2 separate regions of the Homo sapiens genome follow, and region 2 is linked to region 1. The links are contacts of gene promoters, found by promoter capture Hi-C in human tissues and cell types (Jung and others, 2019). All regions are on one chromosome and are shown on one strand. Each heading gives the region's core, a stretch centred on a gene start or on the middle of the fragment in contact. The rest is flanking DNA. Distances are from core to core; before and after follow the strand shown. Region 1 holds the start of SLC22A12 (solute carrier family 22 member 12). Region 2 holds the start of RASGRP2 (RAS guanyl releasing protein 2).

What was found. The method cuts DNA at HindIII sites, captures the fragments that hold promoters and counts their contacts. A contact is called where the count stands out against the background at its distance.
Region 2: the fragment with the promoter of RASGRP2 here is called in contact with the fragment with the promoter of SLC22A12 in region 1 in 2 of the 25 tissues and cell types used here (bladder and dorsolateral prefrontal cortex).

What each region holds. Positions count from the first base shown.
Region 1 is chr11:64,586,871-64,593,218 of GRCh38, reverse strand. SLC22A12 (solute carrier family 22 member 12) reads right to left here and starts at 1,999. Exons shown (of 10, transcript NM_144585.4): 1 at 1,261-1,999; 2 at 337-440. The coding sequence starts at 1,662. The HindIII fragment of the contact is 41,401 bases long and covers 1-5,708 here.
Region 2 is chr11:64,741,288-64,746,612 of GRCh38, reverse strand. RASGRP2 (RAS guanyl releasing protein 2) reads left to right here and starts at 2,471. Exons shown (of 17, transcript NM_001098671.2): 1 at 2,471-2,610; 2 at 3,676-3,819; 3 at 4,501-4,603; 4 at 5,112-5,174. The coding sequence starts at 3,747. PYGM (glycogen phosphorylase, muscle associated) reads left to right here. Exons shown (of 20, transcript NM_005609.4): 20 at 1-215. RefSeq lists silencers at 1,355-1,554, 1,805-1,914, 2,905-2,954, 3,115-3,164, 3,475-3,804 and 1 more. The HindIII fragment of the contact is 18,641 bases long and covers 1-5,325 here.

The DNA.
Region 1 (6,348 bases), core at 750-3,249:
CAGAGCCAAAGGGAATGGGCTCCAGTCACCAGGAGCACTCAGGTTGCTGCTGAAGGAAGGCGCATGGCCAAGCCAGTTTTAGCAGTGAATGTTTGCTGGGGAGCAGAAATCCTCTACAACCCCCAGAGTAAAGTTGGTGAACTCGAGGTTCAGAGAAGGTTCCAGACCTCCCTACCTGGCACGGCTGCAGGGTGGCTGGTCCGAGACCCACACCCAGCAAGTAGGGCGCTTTCTAGACTTGGTTTTGTGAGGCTGGTTTGGGGCCAGTCGGCCAGGGTCCTAGGAGAGCAGGGGTTGTGAGGGGAACTGGGACCTGCCTGGACTGGGGGTACTCACCTGTCTGAGGCAGGGCCGCACGCAGCAGCTCCCACCAGAATCCCAGCCAGGTAGATGGACTGGGCCATGGGCTTCAGAGCATGAGAGTCACACACGAGGTTCCACTGATGGGAGAGGAGGAGGCTGAGCTCAGGAGGTTGGGAGAGCCCCAGCAGAGAGGCAGAGGAACCGCATGGGAGGGCCCCCAGGGAGCTGGGTGCGGTGGGTGGTCTGGTGACCTCTAGGGTTTTAGAGCAAGACCCTGTGGAACAGTGAGGGCACCCACAGGCATAGTTTGGCCTTTTGAGGAGTATATCCTGCCACCCTCTGCCTGAACTCTTCCATGGCTCCCTATTGCCCAATGGGTCTCTAGCCACATCTGCCCCTCTCTCCTGTCTCTCCACTTGGAAGCAGCCACCCAAGCTGACACCCTCACCCCTCTCCCAGAGGTTGCTTCCCTCCTGTTCTTTATAAAGAGGTTCTTCCCACTTGTTGGGATGAGCTGCCCCTCTCTGCTTGCCTGGCTTTGCCTGGCGCCCCATCTGGGAGGCAGCCTGGGGTAATCCCTTACTCTGTGTGCTTTGGTCTCGGGGAATCCAGTGAATTGTCACTGAGTCCCCCTGCTGCTGAGTTGCCTGGAGTCACGGCTGACAGGTCAGCAGGGCCAGGACAGGGTGAGGCCGGTGAGTGTCCAGGTGCCAGCATTTAGAGGTGCCCGCCCAGGTGCCCCCCGCACCTCCAAGAGCCTGGGCTGGCCCCATTTGTAGACTGATCCCTGCCGCCCACTTCCCTGTGTGTGGCTGACGAGGGGCTGAGAGGCTCGAGAGTGAGTGGGGCCTGGGGAGGTGGGTCCCTCCCAGGACTGGACCTTTGAGTCTGACCCACCGTGATCCATGACTGACCTCCAAGGTGGTGGGACTCGAGTGGCTCTGGGGGAGGCCCTACCTTGGCCACGATTGTGGAGGTGAAGATGCTGCGGTCATAGACCCAGCCATCCACACACGGCTCCGTGTCGGCCTCGCTCCAGCTGGTGGCCGTGGCATTGGGGTCCAAGAGCTGCCACTGTGGCTGGCGGAAGCGGCGGCACTGGTGGGGCCTCTGGTTGGGGCCCGGCGGGATGGAAATAGCCAGGAGGGCCTCAGGACTCAAGCTCCCTAGGATGCTGGCCTGAGCCGTGCTGTTGTCCAGGAGGGGTGCCCAGCAGCGGTGGCTGGGCACGGCGGCCGAGAAGTTCTCCAGCATGCTCTGGGTACACAGCCACATGATGGAGACCATCAGAGCCATCGTCTGGAGAACCTGGAACCTGCCCAGGCCACCCACGAGGTCCAGGAGTTCAGAAAATGCCATGGAACCTACTCAAGGGGCCCAGAAGAGGGGCCCACTTCACAAAGGCTGGCCCAGGGCAAAGAGGCCAGGGCAACGGGCCTGTTTCCCCCACGGTGGTGCCCACAGTGGCTTCTCCAGCCCAGCGGCTAGGCTTCACAGACTCGGGGCCGGAGGCTCAGGCTCTCTGGTCATCTGCCTGCTGGTGTCACTTGGGGTGGCTCCAACTGGGCCCTGAGGCCGCGTGAGGTGATTCCGAGACCTCCAGCATCTCCCCAGAGAGGCAGCTGCTCCAGACCTCCCGGGAAAGCTGAATTTGGAAAGTAGGGAATGTGGAGACTGAAGACTTTAATTTTAGACTGGAATTAAAGTGTGACCGGTGACACTTATGGAATCGAGTTTAGCAATCATTTCCTTGGTCAAAGTTTAACCCGCGTTGAGGCAGGCACAGACGCGAGGGAGGTGCAGCCTCCTCTGCTTGGGGGCCAGGGCCGGCCTGCTCTGTGCCAGGTCTTGGGGAGGCCTAAGTTTTTCTCCTGGCGGCTGTGGGATGCCAGGGCTGCCTGCTCCCTTCGGTGCCCCTGTGTGCCCACCTCCCAGAGTGGCTGAGCCAAGAGAAGGTGGGCCAGGGGATCCCCCTAATTTGGGGCTGGGGCAGCTGTGCAAGTCTCTGTGTGGGCTTGGGTCACTGGCAGCTGCCCAGCCCCTGCGCCTCCCAGGCTGTGTGGCCTGGCCCCACCCGTGGCTCCTGCCTCCACTCACCTGCTGTGGTTGGCGTCCTGTGCCCGCTTTGCTGTTACCCTGTCCTGAGTCCTCGGTGGAGCTTCCCAGCATCAACAGACACCCCACAGACTCCCCAGGTTCGGTGTGCCCAATGCCACCCTGAGATCTCTGTCCCCTCCCCAAATCTATGCCTCCTGCAGAGCCCCACCTCAGCTATGGCCTCTCATGTCACAGTGTCTGGCCTGGAACCCAGCGTCTTGGTTCACGCCTCCTGCTCCCTGCCTCCCAAATCCACCAGGGGCCAAGCCTGGCTAGTTTTGCCTCCTAAGGATTTCTCTCTCCCACCTCCCCCACTCCACAGCTGTCCCTGCCCTTGTCTTTCTGCCTCAACTCCTGCCCCTGGACCCACCACGCACTGCGAGCCCTTGGGTCAAATCCTGCTTAAAAGCCAAGGGGCTCCCAGTCAACAACAGCTAGTGGTGACTTACTAGGGCAGGTGAGTGGACAGCAGTGTGTGCTGATGCAGGGTGTGGGGTTCAGGAAAGGCTGGACCGAGGCCAAGAGAACCCCCTTGGTCTCGATAGCTAATTCTGTAGGCGAAAGGGCCAGAGAACACAAAGCAGTTAAAAAGTGTGTGTGCATGGCCGGGCGTGGTGGCTCATGCCTGTAATCCCAGCACTTTGGGAGGCCGAGGTGGGGGGATCACTTGAGGTCAAGAGTTCAAGACCAGCTTGGCCAACATGGCAAAAACCCATCTCTACTAAAAATACAAAAGTTAGCTGAGCATGGTCGTGGTGCACAGCTGTAATTCCAGCTACTTGGGAGGCTGAGGCAGGAGAATCTCTTGAACCCAGGAGGCAGAGGTTGCAGCAAGCTGAGATTGCACCACTGCCCTCCAGCCTGGTTGACAGAGAAAGACTCTTATCTCAAAAAAAAAAAAAAAAAGAAAAGAAAAAAAAGAAGTGTATGTATATGTGGGTGTGTGCACATGTCTGTGTATGTGTGCACATGTGTTTGCACAAGTGCATGTGTGTACATGTGTGCATGCGTATATGTGCAGTGCAGCAGTGATGGCAACCCAGGTGTTTGCTCTTATGAGCTTTGGGCATAAAACTCTCCATTTGAGGCATAAATGCCCCTCCCATCTGCTTCTTTTTGCTTCACCGACTCTTCCCGCTGCCCCTCCACATGGCTTACCAAGCCAACTTCTTTGCCTCCCTGGGCTCTGCACCTTGAGTCATCCACTGCTTCCACCACATGCCCTGTACATGCTTTCTCAGTTCCCACCCTTGCTTATGTTGGACCTCCAGCCTGGAATGCTGTCTCCAGGCTCACCCTTAGGCCACATACTGTGTGGAATGGGCACAGTCCAAATACTCCTCCTCCAGCGGGCTCTCTTCACTTATTCCTGCCTACAACTAGGGCTCAGAGTTGTCAGTGGAATCTCATCTTTACACTGTCCTGCATTCTTCTCAAACTCCTGACCTCAGGTGATCTGCCTGCCTTGGCCTCCCAAAGTGGTGTGAGTTGCGGCACCCAGCCATGACCTGCATTCTTCTATTATGGTCCAGTTGGTCTTATTTCCAGTGAGCTCCTGGTAGTCTGGAACCCTTCTTTAGAGGCTCTTTGGAACTGATTTGGACAACAAATAAAGGTTCCATGGAGACTTGCTGAAGTGCATGGATGATTTTTTTAAAAATTTCATTTATTTTCTAATTATGAAATAATTTACACACTTCCTCAAAAATTCAGAACATATTGAAATGAAAATAAAGATCCCTCATATACTCATCAACCAGTGAGTTACACTACTGTTTACAGTTTGGTGTAAATATGTGCAGACTTTGTTTTAGTAACTGATATGTTTAGCTTCATCAGCTTGAGCTGCCAAATAAGCTTTACATTTCCTTTTGTAAAATCCAAAAGAAATACCTCTGCCTTTTAATTAGCGATTTTAACCTGTTCACATTTATTGTAATTATTGACATGTTTGGACTTACTGTATGTTTTCTTGTTTACCACATTTTCCCTTTAAATCTTGGTTTCCTTGTTCCTAATTTCTACTGAATCCATTAAGTTTTCTTGTTATATTCTTCTACTGTCTTGGTCTGTCAGTTGTACGTTTTATTTCTGTTACCCTTATATTTGAACACACAAACCAGGGGTTATTTGATACCATCTTCTCTCTTCAAACCTACCACCTTCTCTTCTATCCTCTCTCTCAATAGATGACCTTTTTTCTTATTTCACTAAAACAATAGAAGCCATCAGAAGCCAACAGTCTAATTCTCTCACCAGCTCACCTGCCTTGGTGCCCCCACATTCTGCCTTCCTTCCACCCAGTTTGGTTTCTCTCTCATCCATGCCAACCCCTCACTGTGTGCCTAGAGCCCACCCCCCTTTGCCTGCTCACATCTCTCTTTGGCATTTGTCTTTCCCTCGCTACTGGATAATTTCCACCAATGTACAAATATGCCATTTTTTTCTGTAGCCTTCCAAAAACTCCCCCTCCATTTGAGCCCCTCTTTCTTCTTAAGCGACTGCCCCACCTTTGCTTGTATTTACAACAAAATTCTATGAAAGTATTATTGACACTCATTTCCAGTTTCTGTCTTCCCATTTTTTTGTTTGTTTTTGGATTCATTCCCATCAAGGTTTTGCCCCTATCACTCTGCTGTCACCAATGACCTCCATGCTGCTAGATTCAATGACATTTTCAGTCCTCATCTTACTTGAGCCATCTGTCTCTGATCTCCATCTGAGAATACTTTCTTCCCTGGGCCTCCAGGACTCACTAGTTCTCAATCTTCTTGGTTGGGTTTTCCTCTTCTCCACACACTGTTAACATTGGAGGCCACTGAGCTCACTCCTTGGTCTTCTCTATATTCTCTATCATCTGGTCCATTCACATCTTTAGCCTGTACCTCTTCTTGGAATGCTAGATTTTGATCCAACTGCCTAATCTTAGGTGCTTAATAAACATCTCACACTTAGTGTGGCCAAAGCTGAGCTCTCCCAAAAAAATGCTTCTCATGCAGCTTTCTCCACTTTTTTTTTTTTAAGTTGAGTCAGAGTCTTGCTCTGTTGCCCAGGCTGGAGTGCAGTGGCGCCATCTTGGCCCATTGCAGTCTCCACTGCCCAGGTTCAAGCAATTCTCATGCCTCAGCCTCCTAAGTAGCTGGGTCTATAGGCATGTGCCACCATGCCCAGCTAATTTTTGTATTTTTAATATCGATGGGGTTTCACCATGTTGGCCAGGCTGGTCTCGAACTCCTGGCCTCAACTGATCTGCCCACCTCGGCCTCCCAAAGTACTGGGATTATAGGCATGAGCCACTGCACCCAGCCCCAAATCACCAGCATTTTAATTTCAGAATGTGTAATTTCCATTTCAGAATCCGTGTTTGGTTCTTCCTATAACTGCTTCTTCTTGTTTCCTAGTTTCCACTTCTTGTTTCATAGGTGGAATAATTTCCTTGATCTCTTAGTGGATATTACGAGTGTTTCTCTTGGGCCAGGCGTGGTGGCTCACGGCCGGAATCCCAGCACTTTGGGAGGCCGAGGCGAGTGGATCACTTGAGGTCAGGAGTTTGAGACCAGCCTGGCCAACATGGGGAAACCCTGCCTCTAGTAAAAATACAAAAATTAGCCAGAGGTGGTGGCACACACCTGTAATCCCAGCTACCAGGGTTGCTGAGGCAGGAGAATTGCTTGAATCCATGAGGCGGAGGTTGCAGTGGAGCCAAGATCACGCCACTGCACTCCAGCCTGGGTGACAGAGCAAGATTCTGTCTCAAAAAAAAAAAAAAAAAAAAAAGAAGAGTGTCTTTCTTCTTAATATCAATATTCATTTGTTGAGCTGAGTGTTGATAATGCACCAGCCACTGCTCTAGGCACAGGGATGCAGCGGTGAACAAACAAGATAATTCCCTGTTCTCATTGATATGTAGAAAGACATGCCAATGAGAGAGGAGAAACACATCAAGAA
Region 2 (5,325 bases), core at 1,222-3,721, 150 kb before region 1:
CTTGGGCCAGCCCCAGCACCTCATGCAGAGGGTGGGGTACTGGAGTTAGATCTCTAAGCCCCTCCTGGAACCCTCATTTTCCCCACTCTCAATGTCCCAGTGTCCAGCGTGACTAAGGACACGGGCCCCCTTCCGTCCTCGGGCTCCCGGTCCCCTCCTATTTATGGGGTCTGACCAACTGCACCCACTCCCTAATAAATTCATTCTCCTTGGGAGCCTCCTTACTCCTCTTTGTTGGGAAATATTTTTAGCTCTTGGCGGGCTCAACAGCAGCCGCGCAGTCACCCCCTTATCCTCCACCCTCGGCAGGTGCGTCCCACGGCGGGACGGTGATGGGAGGTGGAGGGGGCGACCCGTGGGGGCGGGGCCTAGGCCTCTCCAGCCCCTTTCCTGGCGTCACCCTCCACGCCTCTCTTCCCAGTGCCGTGTCCATACTAGGTCAGCGGCCAGCCTCGCTGGCCGGGGGCGGGGCGTCTGCCTGGGTGGGGCCCACCGGGGCTGGGAGCCGGGACTTGGGCTGAGGCTTCCCGGACCACGGAGGATCCGCGCTGTCGAGGGCAGGACCCAGGAGGGGGAGGAAGCAGAGGATGCTCGGCGCCTTCTTGGCTCCGCCCTTAGCCCCGCCCTACTGCGGCGTTTAAGGGTCTCTTAGCAGGTGGCTACACTGGATCCAAAGTCGGGGGAGTGTTACGGCAGGGAACACTCGCAGACCGCCTAGTCTAGGCCCTCATTATGGGGAAACTGAGGAACAGAAAGGTCCTGTTTCTAAGTCTTACATTACCAAGACTGAGGTGCGGGGGCGGTCCTGGATCCCCCGCCCCAAGGCTGGGAGGGGCACGCCTCGGAAGGGAGGTTTGGGGTCGGTGGTTTCACAGTGAGTGTGTCTGAAGCCAAATGGTCGGAAACCGTTACCCGCTCTCCTAGGCCCGGCTAGTGGGGACCCCAACCGCCTGCGGCTGCCCCTCCCAAGTTCCTCCCTGTTGGCCAGGCATCCAGGTCTCCAGTCTCCGAGCTGCGGAGAACCCACCGCCACATGCGGCTGCCCCTTTCCATTCGACCCTGTGGGGAGCCAGGCTTCCGGGGCCCCGTTCCTCCTGTGTGAACTGGGCCCCCCGCCCCCATTCCCAGACATCAAGGCCGCGTCTCCAGATAGCCACGATTTCATTCCTCGCTCCCCACAGGTCCCTCTCCCCAAAATATTCCCATCTTGTCCTAGCCCATCCCCCAGACTATCTCAAGGACCAGCTGTCCCCACGCCCCCGACCTCCACTAGGCCTGTGCCACCCGCTGCCTGCAGGAAGACGCCCGGTCCCGGGCCGGGTTAGCCCCATGGGAACGGTTTGTCTCGAAAACAGGAACCCGAGCTGGGGGCTGGGCGGGGCGCCCCTTCCCCACCGCAGTCCGCTTCCTGCCCCTCCCGGCTTCCTCCGCCCGACACCCAGGCAGGGCGGGGGGCACTGGGGCGTCCGCGGTTGGGGGAGGGGCTCTTCGTTTCGGTCCCCCCTCCGCGTCCCGGGCGGCGGGGCCTCCGGTCGCCCGCCCTCGGGGCAGCTAGTGGCGCAGCCCCCCGCCCGCGGCCCTGGCCTCCCGGGCGGCGCGGCAGGGGAGGGGTTAAGCTGCCGCAGGGACCGCCGCGTGCGGGGCGAGAGGGAGCCCCCGGTGGGGGTGGCGCAGCCGGCGGTGCGGAGCTCCGCGCAGGGGCGGAGGGGGGAGGGGGCAGCCTGGCGCGGGGGCGGGGGCGGGGCGGCGGGGAGCGGGGCCGCGGCGTGGAGAGCGGGCGGGAGCCGCAGCCGCAGCGAGGCCGGCGGGCGGGAGCGCACGGAGGTGGGGTCGGCCAGGCCGGTGCGGGCTCCTTGCGGCAGGTCCCAAGAGTGAGTGGGCGAGCGCGGGCGGGGCGCCAGGCGAAGGAGGGCGCGGCCCCCAGCGACTCCCCCCCCGCCCAGGGCGGCGCGGGCGGGCTGGGGGCGGCGAGCGGGTGGGGAGTCTGCGGCCCGGGTCTGGGAGAGGGGGCAGCGGCCACGAGAGCTAAGGCGCGCTGGATCCCCGGAGGGCGGAGGACCTCCACGGTGCACCCAGCTTTTCCCAGCCACCTTCCAGCGGGGCCCTCCCCCGCGTACCCCCATTTGGCAGATGAGAAAATTGAGGCTCCCAGAGGCCAAGTGATTCTCAAGGTCACACGAGGAAGCGGTAGAGCCAGGCGGGGACGGCTCTGGGTGGCTCTTAGGAAAAGTCCGCCTGAGAACTCCGTACAGGAGCTCCCCTGTCCTCCAGCCTGGGGGAGTGAGTATGTGTAGGGCCGGGGTACCTTTCCGTGGGGCAAGGCTCTGCCAAAATCTGGGAGTGAGGGGAGTCAGGGAGCTGGGGCCGCAGGGCGGGCCCTGCACCGCAAATGGGAGGGGGGCGACGGAATGGGCGTGCGCACCCATGGGGGTGTGTGCATGTGTGTGGGAGTGTACATGCGTGGAGAGGCACTGCCTTGCGTGTGTGCACACGTGTGAGGATGTCAGCGCCTGTGTGGCCGCGGGACTCAAGGCTGGCCTGGCTCAAGTGAACAGCACGTCCAGGAGGCGACCTCGTCCGCGGGTTTGCATTCTGGGGTGGACGAGCTGGGTATGTGTGCCTGAGGGTTTCTTCGTGCAGGTGTGCACAGGGTGTGGGTGCCATTGTGTGTGAGAGACGGAGGATGGGAGGCCGGTGCCTGTGGCCCGGTGCGTGTAAGTGCGGACGCCTGCACCTCCACTTAGGTCCCCGGCCTCCGACGAATAACTTGGGTGTGGAGTGTTTGCCCCTGCCAGGGTGCGTATGACCCCGCCAGTGACCGGAGTTGCTAATGGTGTCATGCACCCACCGGCCACCCTTGGCGCGAGCGCCCCCCTCTGGACACCCTGCTCCGTGCGCGCTCACAGTTCGCCTGTGCGGGGCCGGGGCCAGGGTCAGGAGCCGGGGATAGGGAGGAAGAGGGCCTGTGGACAAGCTGAGCCGGGACCCCTGGGACCTTTGCGGAGGTGGCCTGGGAGCGCTCAGTTCCCAGGCTCAGGCTTCCCGCTGACGCCTCCTGGCCGCAGCGGGCTCCCCCCGCCCCAGGAATGTTCCTCTCCCATCCAGTCCGCCTCCCCTAGGGCAGGCCCCCTGGGGGCTGCCGCAGCCCCGCCTCGCCTTCCTGGGCTCCCGGGAGGGGGCGAGGCGGGCAGGACGCCTGGGTTCTCTCCCCCCACCTCCCATACCAGGGAGAAATTCCTCCGAGGTCCCCTCAGGCTCTGGGTTCCCAAAATAACCCTGCGGGGGAAGGGAGGCTGTGGAGGGAGGGAAGCGGGAGGGGCGCAGAGCCGAGCTGCGGGGTGCTGCAGGTGCCTCTGGGGAGAGGGCGCGAGGAGAAGGCGCCCTGCGGGGGGCTGGGCGCCAGCCAGTCCTGGGATCTTGGTTCGTCCCCATCCTCGTGAAGCCCCTCGGCCTTCCCGCGACTCCGAGGGTGGGCCGGAAGCCTCTCTGCGGGTCCGTTTCCCAACTGGCGGGTTGCACCATCCCGGGCCAGACCGTTTAACCCCGGGAGTGGCCGCGGGGGACAACTCCGCCCCTGTCCAGCAGGGGGCGTGCCCGCCCCGCCCCGTTTCTGCCCGCGGGGCCGCTCCCCCGCCCGCGACTCCGCAGACTCCCGCTCTGCCTCTCCCGGGACAGGGGTTCGGTCCGAGCCCGGTGGGAGGCTCCCGGAGCGCAGCCTGGGCCCAGCCCACCCCGCGCCGGCGGCCATGGCAGGCACCCTGGACCTGGACAAGGGCTGCACGGTGGAGGAGCTGCTCCGCGGGTGCATCGAAGCCTTCGGTGAGTGGCTCGGGAGGGCACACGGAGCCTGAGCCTAGCCCCGAGTCTGAGCCCGGGTCCCTGCCTCCCAGGCACAGTCCAGGGCACAGCCCTGACCCGGACCCACCCTGCTCCGCAGCGTGCAGTCTCTTTAACGAAAGCCTCCTCCGCAACGCAGGGCAGAGAGATGCACGCCCTTCAGACAGATGAGGTTTCCCTTCTCTAGCCTTCCCCAGCGGCGGCGAAGGGAGGGCCGGGTCCCGGACTCTGACACTTGAGGGGCATTATCTGTCTCCCGGGGAATCCGGAGGAACTCGCTATCTCCGGCCTGGGAGCTGTTTCCGGCTAATGGGGGGCGGCTTATCTGGTGAAGGGGTGCCCCTTCCCCCCAAGCGCTCAGGAAATGACCTCTGGATTCTTGACCCCGGGGAACCCAGGCTCCTTCCGCCCCAGCTGGTTCCCCTCCGGACGATGGGCGGCTCGGGCGCTCCCCTCCTCCAGTCCTCAGGGCGTGCCTATCTCTCGCCCACCACACCTTTCCTCTCTAATTTGCCTCCTGCTCTCGGAGTCCTGGGCAAGCAGGAGGTGGGCGGGGTCGAGCGTGCACCCGAAGGACCGATACCTGGCGGGTTGCGGGGTGAGGATGAGGCATGGTAGCTGCGGACCCAGCTCAGCCACCTGTCTTTGACCCTTCGGAGTCAGATGACTCCGGGAAGGTGCGGGACCCGCAGCTGGTGCGCATGTTCCTCATGATGCACCCCTGGTACATCCCCTCCTCTCAGCTGGCGGCCAAGCTGCTCCACATATATCCTTCGCCGGCCTTGCCAAGGCCCCCGCCGTCGGAGCCCATGCGCAGCCCCTCTGCCCAGCCCAGGTGCAGAATGAGCCTCGCTCCTAAGTATAGGCCACTCCTTATCCCAGAGCTCAGGCGTCGTCCCAGCCTCCAACTAGGGCCTAGGCTCTGCCCCCTCCTTGCTCCTAGCGACTCGGTCCTGTCCCCAGGCTCTGTCCCCAGCCGAGGCCTTGCCCTCCTTCTCCCTAGAGTCTGGGGCCTGCCCCTGCTTCAGGCTTGGGTGCGCCCCGTGCATCTCTCTCTCCCAGAGCCCAGGCTTTGCTTTCAGCCTCCCTCAGCACCTAGTCCTCCACCCCCACCTCCAACCCCTCCCAGAGCTCAAGCCTCACCCCCAGCATCTCCGCAGAGCGCAAGCCCCATCCCTAGAACGTGTCTCCTAGAACCAGGCCCCGCCCCCAGCCTCCCTCCACGCAGGCCTCCCTTTCTAGAGTTAAGCGGCCTCCTTAACCCTCTCCTTCACCTACCAACAATCCCGGAAGGACAACTCCAATTCCCTGCAGGTGAAAACGTGCCACCTGGTCAGGTGAGTCTTTCCCCTGGGGCTCTAGCCCCTCCCCTTTCTCCCTTCTCTCTGGCTTCAGGCTGGCCTGGAGGAGGGGGCAGGGCGCTGTTTCTGGGAGTGGGTTTGAACCCTGGCTTGTCCGGGTGGGCAGTGCTGCCACAGGCTCACCCCT